Regions from separate parts of the Homo sapiens genome. Here regions 2, 3 and 4 are each linked to region 1. Evidence: promoter capture Hi-C in human tissues and cell types (Jung and others, 2019). All regions are on one chromosome and are shown on one strand. The core of a region is centred on a gene start or on the middle of the fragment in contact, and the rest is flanking DNA. Distances in the headings are between cores, read along the strand shown. Region 1 holds the start of SH3BP2 (SH3 domain binding protein 2). Region 2 overlaps RGS12 (regulator of G protein signaling 12). Region 3 overlaps POLN (DNA polymerase nu). Region 4 overlaps LOC124900839.

What was found. The method cuts DNA at HindIII sites, captures the fragments that hold promoters and counts their contacts. A contact is called where the count stands out against the background at its distance.
Region 2: a contact is called between a fragment that was not itself captured here and the fragment with the promoter of SH3BP2 in region 1, in 1 of the 25 tissues and cell types used here (H1 embryonic stem cells).
Region 3: a contact is called between a fragment that was not itself captured here and the fragment with the promoter of SH3BP2 in region 1, in 2 of the 25 tissues and cell types used here (lymphoblastoid cells and pancreas).
Region 4: a contact is called between a fragment that was not itself captured here and the fragment with the promoter of SH3BP2 in region 1, in 1 of the 25 tissues and cell types used here (dorsolateral prefrontal cortex).

The regions. Positions count from the first base shown.
Region 1 is chr4:2,791,436-2,794,348 of GRCh38, forward strand. SH3BP2 (SH3 domain binding protein 2) reads left to right here and starts at 1,650. Exons shown (of 13, transcript NM_001122681.2): 1 at 1,650-1,703. RefSeq lists a silencer at 1,368-1,717. The HindIII fragment of the contact is 44,064 bases long and covers 1-2,913 here.
Region 2 is chr4:3,395,840-3,398,728 of GRCh38, forward strand. The region is part of intron 4 of RGS12 (regulator of G protein signaling 12); the gene reads left to right. Among named protein-coding and RNA genes, the nearest start is that of HGFAC, 45 kb to the right of the region's middle. The HindIII fragment of the contact is 3,930 bases long and covers 1-2,889 here.
Region 3 is chr4:2,213,962-2,217,215 of GRCh38, forward strand. The region is part of intron 3 of POLN (DNA polymerase nu); the gene reads right to left. Among named protein-coding and RNA genes, the nearest start is that of HAUS3, 27 kb to the right of the region's middle. RefSeq lists a silencer at 1,521-1,815. The HindIII fragment of the contact is 4,456 bases long and covers 1-3,254 here.
Region 4 is chr4:2,032,006-2,035,180 of GRCh38, forward strand. The region is part of intron 1 of LOC124900839; the gene reads right to left. Among named protein-coding and RNA genes, the nearest start is that of NICOL1, 8.4 kb to the right of the region's middle. The HindIII fragment of the contact is 6,531 bases long and covers 1-3,175 here.

The DNA.
Region 1 (2,913 bases), core at 400-2,899:
TCTGCCTGCTGTCATGCCCCATCCACTTCTGCCGCCTCCCCAGTAGAGGACCCCCTCCATTTCACAGATGGGGAAAAGGGGCCCTGTTGTCTGAAGACTCTCCCATATCCTCCCCTGCCTCTGCCATCCCCTGCTTTGTCCCTTCCCTTCCAGAGGCCCTGCCTTGGTCCTGGTCACTTCCTGGTAGGCACTGGCTCTTCCTCTATGCCTGGGCTCAGGGCCTGGCCACCTAGTTTTCTGACTCCTCCCACTTACTCCCCTCCCCAGTTAACCTCTCTGATCCCAAGTGTGTCTCTCCAGCAGGGAGGAGGGCTATTGCAGCCAGGGATCCCCTTTCTGAGGCTTGGGACCCATTATTGGGCAGCTCTGGGACAGGTGGACGGTGACTTGGCCCACACTCGGTCCAGCTGCAACCCTGAGAACCCGCTTGGTTTGGCTGTGTCTCCTGGAGGCCCTCAGGTATTTCAACCTGTAGGACCCAAACCCAGTCCTTCACCTGCTGCAGGGCCAGCCCTGGACACCCCTGCCCCTGCCTGATTTGGAGCAGCCAATTCAGCCCCTGTCATTGGACTCTGGCCTCTTGTGCTCAGTACAGAGGGTCAGACCTTGGCCGCCTGCCTGGACAGGGCCAGGTCACCACCACCCACCCCCAGCTCCCTTGGGTTCCCAGCAAGATCCTGTCCTTCCTCTACTCACAGCTTCCTGGGCTCTGGGACCTGGGGTCCAGTCCCCACTCCTCATGGGGAGGAGTCCCCCCACGCCCCAAGCAGTTGACTCCCGCACTGGTGGGGGGTCCGCTCGCCCTCAAGCTCTGCAGGCCCAGCTTGGTCTCCCCAGCCTCTTCACTTTCTCCACGGCTCCCTCCACCTACCTGGCCCTGAGAGCTCCCCAGGGAAGCCATTTCCTCCCAGGAAGCCCCTCCTCTTCTCGCCCCTGCCCTTACACCAAGGCATCTGGGCCTACTCTTAGGGAGAGGGTGATGGTGGAGGAAAGGGAGCCTCAGAGGAGGCCAAGTGTAAAGCACCCGGTCTCCTGTGCCTCCCAGCCCCAAGACGACCTCTGGGCCACCGGAGTCCAGACCTGGTCCAAGAGGCGAGGTCCCCCTGGGAAGTGCCTGAAAAGTACCCTGGAGGACATTTGGAAACAAAGACAAGGTTTCCTGGTGCCCAGCAAGCCCTCCCCCACCTCCCCTGCTCCTGTCTTGGCCAGGGCCTAAGTCGCACTCACGGGGCAGGGGTGGGGCCGCCCAGGATCAGGACCACGGGGCTGGGGGGGTGGACAGCGCCCTTTCCACCTGGGTCGCTGGGCACTGGGGTGTCACTGGGAGGGACACGCAGGAGGGACAGACACGCTACCTCACTCACGGGCGAGAACTAAGCACCTACTGTGGACCCGGCGTCTAGGCCCGCGACAACGCCAGTCTTCGCCCCCCAGGGGCCTCGTCCCGGGGCCGCGGAGGCCACGTGCAGTTCCCCGCCCACCCTGAGGTACCGGCCCCGCCCCACGCCCAGCTCGGACCTCCAGGATTGCGGGACCCGCCGGGGAGGGGCGGGGCCGGGGCGGGGCCAGGAGGAGGGCGGACTGGGCGGGCGCGGGCGGGACGGAGCTGCGGCGGCGGCGGGTCCCGCGGGCGGGAGCGCCTGGCGGCCGAGTCAAGCCGCCGCCTCGACCCAGGGCCCGCGGGCCAGGAGAGCGCTCGGCGGGTAAGCCTCGGCGGCGGGTCTCGGCGGGTCTCGGGGGTCTCGCGGGGGGGCGGTCTCCGCGTCTGGAAGGGGCTCGGCGGGCCTTGGCGGTCTGGGGGCTCTCGGCGGGTCTCGGGGGTCTCGGGGGAGTCTCGGGGTCCCGACAGGTCTCGGCGGGTCTCGGGGGTCTCGGGGGAGTCTCCGGGGAGTCTCAGGGGTCCCGGCAGGTCTTGGCAGGTCTCGGGGGAGTCTCAGGGTCCCGGCAGGTATGGGCGGGTGTCGGGGGTCTCGGGTGCGCAGCAGCCTCCCCCGGGCCCCGGGGCCTCCGTGTCCTTGCCAAAGGACGCACGGGGCCTGGGCACGGCGGGCAGTGCCCGAGGGAGCGCGGCTTCGGGGCGGGGGCCGGGTGTCCCTTGCCGGGGGCTCAGGGGTGGGAGGCGGTGCGACGCGTCTGTTTCGCACCCCTCGCGCCCCTCTGGCCCCGCGGCGGGGCCCCTTTACGCGACCCTCCCCACAAGACTCAAAGGCTGCGGCGGGCACTCGCTCTCCGCCCTTCCCGGAATCCAAACTTCCCTCTGCAGCGGCCGCGCTTCACGGAGGGCAAGAAAAGCCGCCCACTGGCGCTGATTCACACTGAAGTGTGAGTGACTGATAGCCGGGCGTCTGAGACTCTCATGGGCAACAGGGAATCTCAGGGGTGGCAGAGGGACTGGAGGAGTTAGGGGGCGGGGACAGCCCCTTCCACCTGTACGCTGGCCTCCCTGCAGCCCAGCACTTTCCCGCTGCTCTGGGCCTCGGCTCCCTGGGGGTATTGAGGGCCTGAGCCCTGCTGTGGGGAGCCTTCTGCTGGTGCTCCTTTCCGTGAGCACCTCCTATCCCCTCTCTGTGCCTCAGTTTGCTCATCTGTTGACACTGGGGACAGCTGTGCCTCCTGGTCTAGTGGCCACACTTAAGTCCTTCGAATTGGCTGTGGCCAGGGGCGGGTACTCCGTGTGGGCTGCTGGGGTGGACAGCCTGCCTGGATGACATGTGTGTGGCCTTGCAGGTGACATGGGCCGGTGATGCAATGTGTAGAATTGTTTCCACAACCGCCTGAAGGCAGGGCCCACAGCCTCCTCCTTGCCGAAGCAAGCCTCTGGGTTCAGGTCAGCCCTGCACCAACTCCATGAGCCTGGACAAGCTCCTGCCCTCACTGGCTCAGGCCCTGTGGGACCAGAGGAGGGGCTGGGCT
Region 2 (2,889 bases), core at 133-2,632, 600 kb after region 1:
ATAGTTTTCCCTTAGTGTCTCTAGGGAATTGGTTCCAAGACCCCTTGAGGATACCAAAATCTGCAGATACTTGAGTCCCTGATATAAAATGGTGTAGCGTTTGCATATAACCTACCCATACCTTCCTGGGTACTTTAAATCATTTCTAGATTACTGATAACAGCTAATACAATGTAAATGGTATGTAAACAGTTGTTATACTATATTGTTTTTATTTGTATTTTTTGTTGTATTGTTATTTTTTTTCCATTAATTTTTTTTCCAAATATTTTCCCAAATATTTTCCATCCACAGTTGGTTGAATCTGTGGATGCAGAACTGTGGGTGCGGAGGGCTGGCTGTATTAGATATACCTTGTGTTTTGGATTTATGTGTTTGTGATAGATTTATGTATGTAGTTAAGCCTTTCTATACCTTACCTGTTCATTCTCTTAGTGGTATCTTGTGATGACTGAAAGTTCTTAATATAATCCAGTTTATCATTTTTCCCCTTAGGGTAATGCTTATGTCCCTTTAGAGCAGGCTTTGCCCTTCCCAAGACCATGAAAGTAAATCTGTTTTGTTTTATCTTCAATATTTAAATCTCTGATTCATCTGGAATTGGTATTTTTGTCTATGGTGTGAGGTAGGGGTAAGATTCATTTTTTCTACATGGTATTCAGTTGTCCCAGCTCCATGTAATGAAAAGACAATCCTTCCCAATAACTTGAAGCAACACCTGTATCAGGTAATCATATATTTGTGGGTCTGTTTCTGGCCTCTGTATTCTGTTCCATTGGTCTGTTTGTCTATCATTGGATCAGGACTTCATGTCGTAATTCTCGTCCCTGGCATTTGGATATCTAGTGCTATAGTCTTCATTTTGCTTGTCTTTAAGATTGCCTTGGTTATTCCTGGCCCTTGCATTTCCTTATATATTTTGGAGGCAATTTTCAAGTCACTGGCAGCTTTCCAGAGTCATCTTCACTTTTGTCCAAGCTGGTTGAGACATAGCATTTCTGGAATCTGTGTTGATGCTTTTCCTGGAAATGTTATCACAAGCCACATGCAGCCATTGACATTTGGACAATTGGGGTTTTTTTTTTTTAATTGCTGTAATTATACATATGTGATCTTCAATATGTAGTTACTCATTCTTGCTCTCAAAGTCTTGAGACCATTCCTCCCAGGAATAAATACTAAATCTGGCTTGGTTTGCCTTTTAAAAAACCATCTCTTCTGGATGAATGACCTCTATAAGTATCTAACACCAGCATTAATGGAGATGATTTCAGGCTAATGCATCACCCTCAAATAGACTCTTGCTCGAAAGAAGGTGAGGGAGCAGCCTGGGACACACAAGACCTTGCAAGGACTTGAGAAAAAAGGGACTGGTTGCATCAGAGAAGCCAGTGGGAAGCCCCTGTGTGCCTCTGGGTGCCGAGGTGGGCTGTGGTGGGATGCCACACTGGCTGCGATAGAAGAAGAAGGAGCTGTGCAAGTGCGTGGCCGGGCCAGAGCCCACCCTGTGGTCAGGATGGCCGAGCAGAGCTGAGACCTGACAGATGGGTGAGGATTAACCCTCATATGAGTTTGGGAAGACAGGAAGAACCAGGAAAAAGCTGAGATGGCAGCCAGGGGGTCGCGAGGAACCCAAGAGAGAGTAGTCGTGTGTGCACATGTCCATGGGAGGAGCAGTGGAACGACGTGAGAGGGGTCCCAAGACTAACCTCAGGGTTTTGCCTCAGGCAGCTCGGAGGATGAGGGTGTTTGCAGAGATGGGGAAGACTAGGGTGGGAGGAGCAGATAGGGGGGTGATAACCAAGAATTCTGCTTTGGACATGGGATTTTTGAGATGTTTATTCAAAATCTACTGGAGATATTGTGTAGACAGTTGGATAAATGAGTACAGAATGCAGAAAAGTGGTTGGGCTTGAAAATAGAAATTTGGGAGTCATCAGCGTTTCAATGAAACTCATTGGCTTGGTAAACTTGAGTAATTATAGATCATGCAGAAAAGGCGAGTCTCAAACCCATAAGACACATGGGAAACCAGAAGATGCTGAAGATGTGGTTTGAGAGGCAATAGGACATAGAACAATTAAGAGTATGGCCTCTGGAGCCAAATTATTTAGGTTTACATCCTAATTCTGCTACTTCCTAGCTGTGGGTCTCATTTCTCTCATCTGTAAAATGGAATAATAGTAGGACCCATTACTTACAGACTTCTTACAGGAAGTAAATGATTTAATATATGTGAAGTACATCGGACAATACCTGGTACATTATAAGGAGTTATATAAATGATAACTGCCATTATTTGTAATGGCATTTTAATTGCATTTTCAATATAATTGACCACTGGAAGTGAATAAAATTATTTAGAGGGACTGGGTAGAGAAAATAAGCCAGGAGGTCCTGAAGAAGCTTACAAGATCAACAAGAGAAAGAGCATCAGAGGAGAAAAACTCTCCACTTTGATTGTTAAAAACCCAATTTTAAAATAAGCGATGTTGAACCAGGCACGGTGGTGCACACCTATAATCCTAGCTGTGGATTATAGGGAATGCTTGGGAAGCTGAGGCAGGAGGCTCACTTGAGGCCAAAAGTTTGAGACCAGCCTGGGCAATATAGTTTGACTCCTTCTGAAAACAAACAAACAAACAACAATAAGTGACAAAAGTTTGAAAACAACTAAATGAGAGGATATAACAAGCAATATTAAGAAAAAAGAGAAGTGGCATAACAATATTAATATCAGACAAAGTGAAAAAGCAATAAAAAGAACAAAAAAGACAGTGTGCACCAAAAGTAGCATGAGATTTGCAGAACAGAAGTAAATGGCACGGTATCAACATGGGTAAGTACTCCGAGGGGGAATTATTACACACCTTTTTCAGAAACCAAGAG
Region 3 (3,254 bases), core at 144-2,643, 580 kb before region 1:
GTGGTGACTCACGCCTGTGATCCCAGCACTTTGGGAGGCTGAGGTGGGTGGATCACCTCAGGTCAGGAGCTCGAGACCAGCTTGGCCAAAATGGTGAAACCCCACCTCTACTAAAAATACAAAAATTAGCCAGGTGTGGTGGCAAGCACCTGCAATCCCATCTACTTGGGAGGCTGAGGCAGGAGAATTGCTTGAACCCGGGAGGTGGAGGTTGCAGTGAGCCGAGATTGCGCCACTGCACTCCAGCCTGGGTTACAGGGCAAGACTCTGTCCTGGGAAAAAAAAAAGTAAGCTTAAAAAAGAGAGAGAGAAAAGACCTCTAGAAGAGAACAGACAACCCAGAGACTGATCCCAAGACTTTATATACAACAAAGATAGTATTTCAATTCAATAGAAAAGGATAGATTAATTAATAGGGCTGGTATAACTAGCACCACATCAAAAAGAAAATAAATGCATTGGGAAAACTATTTGGAACAAAAATGACAAAGGGTTAACTGCTATATTATACAACAAGTTCTCATACATTTACAAGATAAGACAAACAATTCAACAGAAAAATGAGCAAAGAATAGGAAGAGGCAATACACAAAACAGAAAACCCAAAGAGGAAACAAATACAATACTCAGGGAAACGCAAATTAACTATAACTGGAAACACAGGGGAAGAGGTAGTCTCATGTATTGCTGGTAAAAATGTAAATAGACTCTTTCTAGAAGGCAAACTGTCAAGACTTATTAAAATTAATAATGCATACATCACTTTGGGAGTTGGGTGGAGAAAGTGACCCACAGGGAGCTCAAGATGGGCCTCTGGGAATGCTAGTTATGTTTCCTGAACTGGGTTTGGGTTTGTGAAATTTTGACCTAAACTAAACTTAGGATATGTGTGCTGTTTTATATATATACACACACACATATACACATACATATACATATATATGTATATACATATACATATATATGTATATACCTCAGCCATATATATATGAGAGACAGAGTGCTCTTGCCTTAACAAAAACAGATAGGAAATAATATCCATCATCTAACCAAATAATCTCTAACCAAATAATCTCACTCTTGGCTGTTTCACAGAAATATATGCAACAGTAAACAGGTTTAAACCAAAATGTTTATAGCAGTATTGCTCATTATGGCAAAGGACTGAAAATAAAGTAGATACCAATCAGAAGAAAACTGAGGAATAAATTACATAATATCCACATCATGAAATACATAGCCACTAAAAAGAATGACCTTGTTAAAACATAGATTGCAGGGGGGAAAATGACTCCAGCTATAGTGGTTGACTGAAGATGATGACCTCATTTTTAAAAATAATGACCAAATCTCCCCGCTTATGCACACGAAGATGTTACGCACATAACACTCGGGTACCCTGGGAGACCACCTCTGTGATGAAGGTTTGCATTTGAAAAGGTGATTGGAGAGTGAAGGAAGCAGAATCCAACCAAGGAAGACAATGGCTAAGATGCAGTCACTCAAAGGCCTGCCCTGAGCTGAGCATGGTCCTACAGATGTGTCTCCCAATGGGTCAAGACAGCTGGGCTTTTATACCCCTGCACAAACTAGTCACTGGACCAGTCACTCCTGGGGAAGGGGTGGGCCCTTGGGCAAAGAAGTTCTTTGCAGCCAGGCAATCAGGGAGGGGCTGTCCCAGGAGCAGGGACAGTGCTTCAGTACTAAAGGGGCATATGGGAACCACAGTGCTTGCTACACTCCACACTGCACTGCTCATAGCCACTTGCTTCAGGGACGTTCTGGGAGCAGCTCCTGTAGGATTCTGGCGGGCCTTTTCCTTGGGAAATTTATAAAAGGAAGGCACTGGGATGAACTACATCTTGCTGCAGCTGGCCTCAAGGTTGCAAATTACATTCATCTCCCTCCTCTACTGCCCATGCTAACTCCTCACCCTTGCCTATCTCCTCTGCTGCTCTAGGTGGCTTAGCTTACCTGATCAGGTAACCCAAACCCTCATCCCTGAGAGGTAAGCCCCTGGCCACCATGCCCTTCTCTGGCCATAGCCCCAGCATTTGCCATCAAATTTGGGCAGGGGACCATGAGGTGGCCAATCACATCACCTGGGTGCTTCCCTGCCCCCAGTTATGTAGTAACAGCTCTACCTCCACCTGACGCCCACGGTCAGCCACCCCAGAAGATGGAAATTACATTCCTTGCCAGCCAGTCTCTTGGCACAAGGAGCTCAAAATGACCAGACAGCAGCCACAGCTGGAAATTAAATGGCGTTCTTCCTGTGCCCCTGCTGGAAAGGTTTTCCCTTTGAGAGTCAAGACCTTTAAACCTTAAGAACCCAGAGGAGTGTGAGGGAGAAATACAGATTTCTAAGTGGGTCACTGGGAGTGATGACTTTCACCTTTTGGTTCCCAGACCCATTTATTACACAAACCAAGGACACTGCACCACGTACTGGTTAGTGATTTGCAGTGCAGACTGCACCCTGGAGGTGACTGCTTCATCACAGGTGTCACCTCCAGGCTGCACACGAGGTGAGCTGTGCCTTCCACAGACCATCCTGCTGCTCCATCAGGCTGGCAGCTTCTTGGTGTGTGGCTGTGAGGGAGACAGTGAGTCCTACTCTCATGTGCCCACTGCTGCAGTTCCTTGGCTGAGCGCAGGATCCTGTGGATCAAACACTCTGTGAAACTTGGGTGATGGAGCTGACTGAATCCATGAGAATGGGAAAGGCAAACCCATGCCTGTAACGTGTGTTGGTTCTGGCCAAGATGAATCACTGTACCTTCTAGGGCACAAGGGGTTCAGTGTTGTCAAATGACTGTTTCCCTCCAAGGAAGGTACAACTGGGGACTCAGTGTTTGGTCTCTGTTGCTGGAAGATTGGATGTTCTGCAGAGAAATAGCTAGGTCAGCTCTGGTGAGGGGGAGCCCCATGCTATGGGCCATGCACAGCATCTACCCACCCCATGATTACTCCATGAGAGAGCCCAGTGTGCCAGCATGGGCGCAGCAGATGGCAGAGGCTAGATGTCAACTGGCCAAGTCATCCTATTAATGTGGTGGTTTGGTGTGTCCCCATGGTGAATGTTCTTGGGTGGGAAGTACTTCGTGACTGTTCCCACAGATCCCTCCACATGCCTTACTCCAGGAACTCCCTGATCTTCCAATCTTTCTCATTCCAGGTACCTGAGCAACCTGTCAAGCCACTAACCGCTGCCCAAGAGTTCCAAATGTGTTAACACTGGGGCCACTTCTCCT
Region 4 (3,175 bases), core at 254-2,753, 760 kb before region 1:
CATGGTGGGTGGATCACGAGGTCAGGAGATCAAGATCATCTTGGCCAACATGGTGAAACCCCATCTCTACTAAAATACAAAAAATTATCCGGCCGTGGTGGCATGTGCCTATAATCTCAGCTACTTGAGAGGCTTGTAGTGAGCTGAGATTGCGCCACTGCACTCCAGCCAGGCGACAGAGCAAGACTCCGTCTCAAAAAAAAAAAAAAAAAGAATGTTGAATATTGGCCCCCAATCTCTTCTGGCTTGTAGGGTTTCCACTGAGATGTCCACTGTTAGTCTGATGGGCTTCCCTTTGTAGGTGACCTGGCCTTTCTCTCTGGCTGCCCTTAACATTTTTTACTTCATTTTAACCTTAGAGAATCTGATGATTATGTGCCTTAGGGTTGACCTTCTCATGGAGTATCTTATTGGAGTTCTCTGGATTTCCTGGATTTGAACGTTGGCCTGTCCTGCTAAGTTGGGGAAGTTCTCCTGGAGGATAACCTGAAGTGTGTTTTCCAACTTGGCTCCATTCTCCCCGTCTCTTTCAGGTACTCCAATCAGTTGTAGGTTCAATCTTTTTACATAGTCCAATAGTTCTCGGAGGTTTTGTTCATTCCTTTTCATTATTTTTTCTCTAATCTTGTCTGCCTGCCTTATTTCAGCAAGACAGTCTTCAAGCTCTGATATTCTTTCTTCTGTTTGGTTGATTTGGCTGTTGATACTTGTGTTTGCATCATGAAGTTCTTGTGCTGTATTTTTCAGCTCCGTCGGGTCATTTATGTTTCTCTCTAAACTGGTTATTCCAGTTAACACCATCTGTAATGTTTTATCGTGGTTCTTAGCTTCTTTGCATTGGGTTAAAACATAATCCTTTAGCTCAGTGAAGTATATTATTACCCACTTTCTGAAGCGTACTTCTGTCAGTTCATCCATCTCAGCTTCAGCCCACTCCTGTGCCCTTGCCGGAGAGGTGTTTTGATCATTTGAAGGAGAAGAGGCATTCTGGCTTTTGGAATTTTCAGCATTTTTGCGTTGGTTTTTCCTCATTGTGGATTTATCTACCTTTCCTCTTTGAGGCTGTTGACCTTTAGATGGGGTTTTTGTGGGGTCTTTTTTGTTGATGTTGTTGTTGTTGCTTTCTGTTTGTTTTTCTTTTATTTTCTTTTTTTTCGTTTTTTTTGAGATGGAGTCTCGCTCTGTCACCCAGGCTGGAGTGCAGTGGCGCGATCTTGGCTCCCTCACTGCAACATCCACCTTCCAGGTTCAAGCGATTCTCCTGCAGCCTCCCAAGTAGCTGGAACTACAGGCGCCCACCACCACGCCTGGCTAATTTTTGTATTTTTAGTAGAGACAGGGTTTCACCATATTGGCCAGGCTGGTCTCGAACTCCTGACCTTGTGATCCACCCTCCTCAGCCTCCCAAAGTGCTGGGATTACAGGCGTGAGCCACTGCGCCTGGCTGTTTTTCTTTTAACAGTCAGGCCCCTCTTCTGCAGGTCGGCTGCAATTTGCTGGAGGTCCACTCCATACCCTGTTTGCCTGGGTATCACCAGTGAAGGCTGCAGAACAGCAAAGATTGCTGCCTGCTCCTTCCTCTGGAAGCTTTGTCTCAGAGGGGCACCGACCTGATGCCAGCTGCAGCTCTCCTGAATGAAGTGTCTGGTGGCCCCTGTTGGGAGGTCTCACCCAGTCAGGAGGCATGTGATCAGGGACCTGCTTAAGGAAGCAGTCTGGCTGCCCCTTACCAGTGTGGGTGCACTGCGCTGGGGGGAATGCCCCCTCATCCAGGTCACTGGGACTCTTGGGAGCCAGCAAGCAGGAAAGATTAAGTCTGTCCAACCTGAGACTGCGGCCACCACTCTCCCCAGGTGCTCTGACCTGGGGAGATGAAAGTTCTGTCCGTAAACCCCTGGCTGGAGTTGCTGGAACTCCTGCAGGGAGGCACTGCTCGGGTGAGAAGGGATGGGTCTGGTTCCCAGTTAAAGAGGCAGTCTGGCCACAATCTGCCACAGCTGCTGTGCTGCGCTGTGGGGAATTCTGCCCAGTCCAAACCTCACAATCTCCCTAGCACTGGCCAGGGAAAACTGCCTCCCAGGTTCAAATGACTCTCCTCCCTCAGCCTCTCGAGTATCCAGGATTACAGGCATGCATCACCACACCTGGCTAATTTTTTTTTCTATTTTTAGTAGAGATAGGGTTTTACTGTGTTAGCTAGGCTGGTCTCGAACTCCTGAACTCATGATCCACCCACCTCAGCCTCCCAAAGTGCTGGGATTACAAGTGTGAGCCACCACGCCTGGCCTTGTAAGCCCATCTGTTCTGCCCATTTACTTTCCTCAGGAGTACAGTAGGGTGCTGCTGGCATGGGTGCAGTACCTGGCATTAGTCCGTGGCCTGGAGCACTGGTGTTCTTCACCTGTGGCCTTGGCTGTCCTGTCCATCAGGGCATTTCCTCCGGGATGATAGAGGTGTCCCCCTTTTGGTGTCCCCTGCAGTGAGTAACTGCCACCTCCTTTGGGAGCTGGACAGCATCTACAATTCCAAGATCTCAGAGCAATGCTGTGTGGGGGATTCCTTAGCTGTTAGCGCTCCCTTTTCTTTCCATATGGCGTCATGAGCGTGGAGCACCAGGCACCCATATTTGGAATCGGTAAATATGTTGACTCTTAAGTCTTTTCTCAGTTGGAGGACCCTGATTAGACCAATTAATTCCACTTTTTGAGCAGATGTCTGGGGAGGTCAAGCTTTGGCCTCAATGCCTTCTTCTCGGCTAACTACTGCATAACCGATCTTTCTTTCTCCCTTATGAATAAAACCACTTTCATCTCTGAGCCACTCAACATCGGGGTTATGCAGGGGCTCAAGGGCTCATCTTTGAGGTCAGGCCTGCTAGAGGAGGTCTGTTCTATGGTTTCCACACAGGAGTGAATGAGTTGGGGATCTGTTTCCTGGGACACGAAGTCCAGCAACAAGGGAGAAGAGTTTAAAACTCGACATACTTTAAGGGTAACATCTGGGGTGTCATGCAGAAGGGTCTGATATTTCAGTAACAAGCCCCTCGTTAGCTATTGGTGTCCCTTTGCCTCTAGGACTCTCTATACTTCATGGGGGGGATCACGACATCTGATGGTTGTCCCAAGGTAAACTTACTGGCTTCTGTCAATAGAGTGGTGGCGACTACAGCTCGCAA